Linked DNA regions of Homo sapiens: region 2 is linked to region 1. The links are contacts of gene promoters, found by promoter capture Hi-C in blood cells and fetal thymus (Javierre and others, 2016). All regions are on one chromosome and are shown on one strand. Each heading gives the region's core, a stretch centred on a gene start or on the middle of the fragment in contact. The rest is flanking DNA. Distances are from core to core; before and after follow the strand shown.

Evidence for each region. Contacts are between HindIII fragments. The CHiCAGO score rates a contact against its expected background, and 5 or more counts as called.
Region 2: a fragment that was not itself captured here is called in contact with the fragment with the promoter of XDH in region 1 in 1 of 17 cell types (total B cells); the score reaches 5.5 in total B cells.

Annotation. Positions count from the first base shown.
Region 1 is chr2:31,413,175-31,416,402 of GRCh38, forward strand. It overlaps XDH (xanthine dehydrogenase), which reads right to left and starts at 1,568. Exons shown (of 36, transcript NM_000379.4): 1 at 1,451-1,568. The coding sequence starts at 1,492. The HindIII fragment of the contact is 5,234 bases long and covers 173-3,228 here.
Region 2 is chr2:30,741,582-30,744,809 of GRCh38, forward strand. CAPN13 (calpain 13) reads right to left here. Exons shown (of 23, transcript NM_144575.3): 13 at 1,802-1,998; 14 at 745-778; 15 at 327-383. Among named protein-coding and RNA genes, the nearest start is that of CAPN13, 64 kb to the right of the region's middle. The HindIII fragment of the contact is 4,692 bases long and covers 1-3,228 here.

The DNA of each region.
Region 1 (3,228 bases), core at 318-2,817:
GAATCTAGCTGTTTACCCAATGTAAAAATTACTAATAAAAATTCCAGAGATGGCTTTGTGTAAGTAGCTCTCCTAGAAAGCCAATTGCACAATGGTTTCCTAGATTTCTACAATGTAATTGCTGAAGGAAAGAAGTTGTTTGAAATGCTGGATGCAAAATCTTACACTTGAAAGCTTTGCCCTACTTCTTGGGTTGGTACCAGGTGCCAACCCTGAAAAGGATGCAGCTCAGAGAGGAAACTCTGAACCCAGAAGAACATGGCTGTCCCCATTCCCCAGCACTTCCCAAAGGCACCACTCAAAGAGAGTCCATCAATCTTTGGAGCACTGACGTTGAAACAGTTCATGAAATTTCTTTTACAGTCACCCAAACACATCCTGGAAATTTAAGACCTAGGAGTCCAGTGAAGCACATTATTGTTCTTGAAAATTATACCAAAAGTCACTCAAAATTACATCAAAAGTTTCTCAACTCAATGCAAAAATGCCAATATAGAAAGACAAATAAAATTGCCCTTCTTTGGGGGACACTTTGGGCACATTCATCACGCACAGTCCACACAGTAAGTTACAATGTGCAACTATGGGACTCTTTTACTATCCTTTTCATTCCTAAGTGGGAAGTTGAACAGGTATGAGCATCTCAGCAGTGTTGTAGGAGGGCAAATGGAGGCTAGTGACCATGTAATATGCTTGCCCCCTCTCTCTCTGCACCACATTAAAATTTGCAAAGATTCTCACTCTTGTCCAAGGGCTGGTACCCATGTCACCTTCCCTAAGTCCCTGTGTACCAATAAGGTAAATTCAAGTAGGTAACAGATTTGCAGCTTACATGTAGAACTCACTGTGTGTGGGTGGGGAGTGGGGGGAATGCAGGAGATGCCCTTTATGAAAAAAAAATTGTGGTTTGCCACAAGGTGTCAGTATATGTCACCTCACAGTGAATCAGGACTGGCTGTTAAACCTATATATATAATATATTAGAATCAAAGGCTGCGTACATCTTATATCCTGATAAAAGCAGGAAAACACATTCCTGTTCCTTCTCTCTGTAAAGAGAGCAACGTAAATTTTAGGATATATTTGATTAAAGACAGAAATAGAAGTGTGGTGATGACCTCAAATCTCACCTAGAACTCAACTCCCCTTTCTCATTCTGTGCCAATCTCCACTACTGCAGAGAGTTGGCAGCTAGCTCACAGATGCCTCTCTGCTTGCCTCTCTCTCCCTCATTCTTTGGCCTCTGAGTATCTTGTCTGTGCTCTAGCCCCGAGAAGGTCTTCTTCCCTAATGTTACCAAAATGCAGCGACACCTTTAAAGCGAGAGAGAGAAAGACAGAACAAGTAAGAGGGGACAGGAAAGACAGAGAACAAGATATGGCTCTGCCAGAGGACACATTTCCCCTCCCAGGGAGAAGGGACACAAAACCAAAGGTCAGCTCCTACTTACCTTTCTGCCATTCACAAAGAAAACCAATTTGTCTGCTGTCATTGTCACAGGTTGGGGTCCCCGAACTCCAGGTACCTCACTCCTAAGAGACACTGGCAGGTAGTTATCACTGCTCTGTGACCTGAAAGTTACGCCTCCCAATAAAATGAAATAAGGTCCACCAATGGGAGGGAACCAGCTCAGAGCTTCAGGGCATGAAGAGTTCTTGGCAAAAGCCACTGGTTTACATAATCAAGGAAGTGCAAACAATCACACACAGCAAATTACAATCTCCACACCTGTGTCAAAGAGCACAGGAAACTACATCCAGATATCAGTAAGGTTGTTGACTTGGCACTAGGCGACTGTGGGTCTTGGGCGCTGCTCTTATGAAACCTGCTTCGTCCTCCCACTTGCTGCAAGACAGAGAAGGGGAAGACAGAGGAGGGAAAGGACTATTCTCAGAGTCACTGCTAATAGAGCTGATTCACACCCTCTGTGTCTACATTTGTCATTTTACCATTCAGGTTTACAGCAACACAGACTGACTGCATGAATGCAAGAGTCATTCTTTCACAGCCTGGTGGAGCAGAGAGGTCACAGGACATGGAGCCCCATGAACCTGACTCAAATCCTGGCATTTGACCTCAGCATGTTACTTACTACCTTCAGAACTCAGTTGCTTTCATCCTGTACAGGATCATAGAATGATATCAAGAATAGAAGAATGAGGGACAAATGACATTTTGGGAGTGCCTTGTAAATTTGCAAAGAACCAAAACATGTATCACTGTTGAAAAGACATCTTCAACATCTCAACAAATAAAATCCTAATAGCAAACTATTTTTGAGATTTGTCTTTTATTTGTTTCTCTCAGGAAAATATCCTTGACAAGTTGTCAGAGTAACTCATAAAAGTATTTCAAAACACCAAATAAATTAAAATGCTCATACCACATAGTCATAGGCTACAGTAACACATAGCTGAAAACCTTTCCCCATCCAATATCCATTAACTCTCAGTGGAAACACAGATGTGCACGTCCACTGGAGCAGCACTAAAGGGCTCTCTGCAGTCCAGCACCCTCCCAACTGCCCCTACCAGTTCTTTAGTTCAACACACACACACACGCAAAAAAAAAAAAAAAAAAAAAAAAAAAAACACACAGAGACCAGCATTCACTCTGGTCTTCTTCTGTCCTGTAATGACCCATACAGTGGCTCAGCCAGCCTTCCTTAAGTAAGACACCTCCCCTACAACCCTAGCAGGCTACCTGAGGGGGAAGAAAGGAGTATTAGGCAGATGTACTTGATATAGCAACAGCTTAGAGAAACTGAAGACTGACAGGACAACCACACAATCAACACAATGCCCCCTCTCACCACAGCCTTAATTTAACCAGGAGATGAAACTTTACTTGTTGGTTGACCAAATATCCCAGTTTGCCCTGGACTATCCTAGTTTTAGCCTTGAATCCCTGACAAATGCCTCAGAGATCCTAGTAAATCCTTCAGTCCAGGGCAAACTGGGATGGTTGGTCACTATAAAACTGGTTGTTGGCTGGGCATGGAGGCTCACACCTATAATCCCAGCACTTTCGGAGGCCAAGGTGGGTGGATCACCTGAGGTCAGGAATTCATGACCAGCCTGGCCAACATGGTAAAACCTCATCTCTACTAAAAATACAGAAATTATCTGGGAGCAGTGGGCCACCTGTAATCCCAGCTACTCTGGAGACTGAGGCAGGAGAATCACTTGAACCTAGGAGGCGGAGGTTGCAGTGAGCTGAAATCATGCC
Region 2 (3,228 bases), core at 347-2,846, 670 kb before region 1:
GAAGGAAAGGTTTCACGGGGTACTGCCAATTGCTTGTTTAAAGATTTAGAGGGCAATGCACCTCACACCCCATAATTATCCCCTCCCTTTCTAAGCTCTGCATTCCAGCTTGAAGTCCCCCGGATGACACTGGGTGGGGCGCCACGTCTCTACCGAGCTTGGCAGCCACAGCAGTTCTGGAGACGATCCAGGAAGAGAGGCAGGTAAAATAGTCCATCAAGTCACTTCTCCTCTCTGCATCCCAGTAAGGGCCTGTGAGAGCTGTCCCTCCCTCAGGTCCCCTTTCTCCAATCCCACGTAAGGCCCCTGGGTGCTAGGTACCATACCTGCTGAGCATATCTGTTGAAAATGCTTTGTTGGGAGCCATGTTCTGAAGGGCTTCCCTGGATCAAAGGGAAAATAGTCAATGTTAGACTTCTGGGGAAGGAGGCCACCCATCTGGTACAGCAAGGGTGCAACAACCCCTGCCAAGATCTGAGAAAGAGTCTTTATTGGGCAGTTGGAAAAAGCCTTCTGGGGAATGAGAAAACTGAAGTTTGTGGAAGGAAGAGGGCTGGGTTGAGCCTGGCCTTGGAGGCCTGGTCTTCTCCCCCTACCCCGCCCCTTTGAGCCTTCATCGGCCTATCATGGTGTCTCTCTTTTCATTGGTTGGGGGCAGCGGGAGGTGTAAAGAAGGAGACGGAAGCTCTTGGGGATGGGATGGGGCCAATGAGGCTCGCCAGCCAAACCTTGCTGCATACCTACCTTCATTCTGAGGTTGAAATGGCTGCTCAGGTGCCTAGAAAATCAGAGGACAGTGTGACAAAGATGACCAGCTCACCACTCAAAGGGGGCCTGCATATAGAGGGCACCCAGGTGGCACTGGATATTGATGCCAAGTTCCTGAATGGGGCACCCTCAGCACCGCAGGACACGAAGTGAGCAGCTACAGCACCGTGGCCACCAGCCCAGCCTTTTGGCTGGAAATGGTCTGGTCTTTAACTGTTTAGTAAATGGTTCCTTCCACAACCCGATACACACTTCCAGCAACCCCCATTGTCAGTATGGCAGATAGGCTCTGCCTTAGGTTCCATCTCTGATTGGTGGTATGATGGCGGCCTGGCATGCTGGACTTAGAAGGTCTCACCAATGCTCAGCTGCAAAGACTGCCATAATGATGGCAATGTCTGTCTTGGGCCCAAGAGGAGACAAGGGGCCCAGTGGGGTGAGCACTTGCTGGTCCCAGTCTTGAATGATCAAGTTGGCATGGAAGACCCTCCATGATGGACTCTTTCTTTCAGGCCCATCTTTCACTGTCTCCCTGCTATACCCCACATTTCAGGCCATGTGATATGCTGGCCAAATGCCACCTTCCTGTATGGATGCCGATGCTACTTACTCTCCAAGCAGCCCTGTGCACAGCCACTTCCCTCCCGCCATTCATGCTTTTTTCTTCTACCTACCTTCCCATGGCTACCATCGCCTTCCCTTTTAAACTATTAAATTATGTTTTTCTTCAAAGCCCAGCTCACGTGTCATTTCCCTCAAGAAGCCTTCCTCAGTCCCTCTTGCCACTCAGTCCTCCCGTGCCACTTTGCATTTCCATCTGGCAATGGACCCATCCTGTTTGTGGTCTGGTTCTTGGTTCATAGACTTTCTCGCTCCCCCTTTATGGTGAGCTGCTCTAGAGTGGGGCCAATATCATGTCCCCAGTGACATAGCACAGGCTGCACGAATGCACAGAGAACTGCCCATAATTACACAATGTGTTTTTATAAAGTTAAGTAGAATAAAACATTTACAATCCCAGAGGGTTCTGTACCTGTCACTGTCTGGCATTTTCAGGAAGATTCGGAGCAAGAACTCCGCTGATTTTCTCCGTGTCTGTGCAACCACAACATAGTTCCCAGGGCTCAGATGGTAAGTCATGGTGAAGTTGCGGCGGAATTTATTATTTGAGCTTTGGACAGTGTTTCTGAACGAGGAAAAAAACACGGGTGGAAATTTCTCCCGGAACCGCTGGAATTAGAGGAAACACAATGATTGTGAGAAAGCCTCCTCTGTGCATGGACCCCAGTCACCAAGAAAGACCCACCACCTTCTAGACCGTCTCCATTCACCAAGATAACATTACAGGCTCTATAAATGGAGACAGTGCTCAGCTGAAGTCTCAAAAAGCAGTAGTGTTTAGCCTGTCATTTCATCTAGACCCTGGACACAATGGATGCAAGGAAATACCACACACAGTTTCATCTCATTGGGTCTAACAGCATCCTGAGTTTCTGAGTTTTCTCTCCCTGCTTATATAGAGAGAAAACTTCCATGGAAACTAGTGACATCATTTTGACACTGATTTTCTTCTGGGGCCCCTAAAGCCCCTTCTCTCCTGAATGTTTAGCAGAATACTTTGGACTGCTATACCATTACAGAATTGAATTCTTTTCACTTTCTCTGTTTCATCTCTCCAGTGAAGCCCCGAGATTCCTTCTCATTGGAGAATAATGGGCCCTGATCATTTTCCTTTTATTTCAATGTTTTCTTAGAGATAAAACAATAAATATAATGCAGTTCCTATTACCAGATGTCACATACATATTATATAATGAAAACCCCTTGCTAAACAAATTTTCCCCACTATAGTCAAGCATAGGGATTCCATTTCGAATGGTTATGCAGCAGGAAATGATTATTTATGAGCTATGCCTTGCAGGGAAAACGGGAAAGGGGAAAGTTTCTTTTCAGGGGTAGGGACAGGGCTGGGCTCCAAGGTAAAACAGGAGATAGGCCACTGCCCCAGGGGTATGGGAGGGTGGCATCTCCAACGCGATTCTGCTGACATTAACAATAGCCTCAGCAGGTTTGGGAGCCTGACTTGCTTGGGCCCTTATGGCAAAAGCAATGATGGAATCAGTTCTTCTCCAGAGGGTCAGCAGTGTCCCGTGGCTCTGGGTATGGGCGAGTGTGCATGCATGTGTGGGTGCATGGGGAGGCAGTGGGCATGCAGAGGTGTGTGGGCAGCATGCCTCCTATAATTAGAAGGCAACAGTCTCCCTGCTCACCCGTTATCTTGTCCTGCTCCCTCTGTTGACCCCTCATAGCCCTGTCCAGGCTCCTGATCCTTCAGAACAGACTTGCTCAGTGGCAGTGAGAAGTGTGAGTGTGGGGGAACAACGTGGGGGTTCTTGGTCAATTGCTTAGAGTATCCAGCATCAACAAACCACACACCCAGGACTGGTCATGCACAGACCT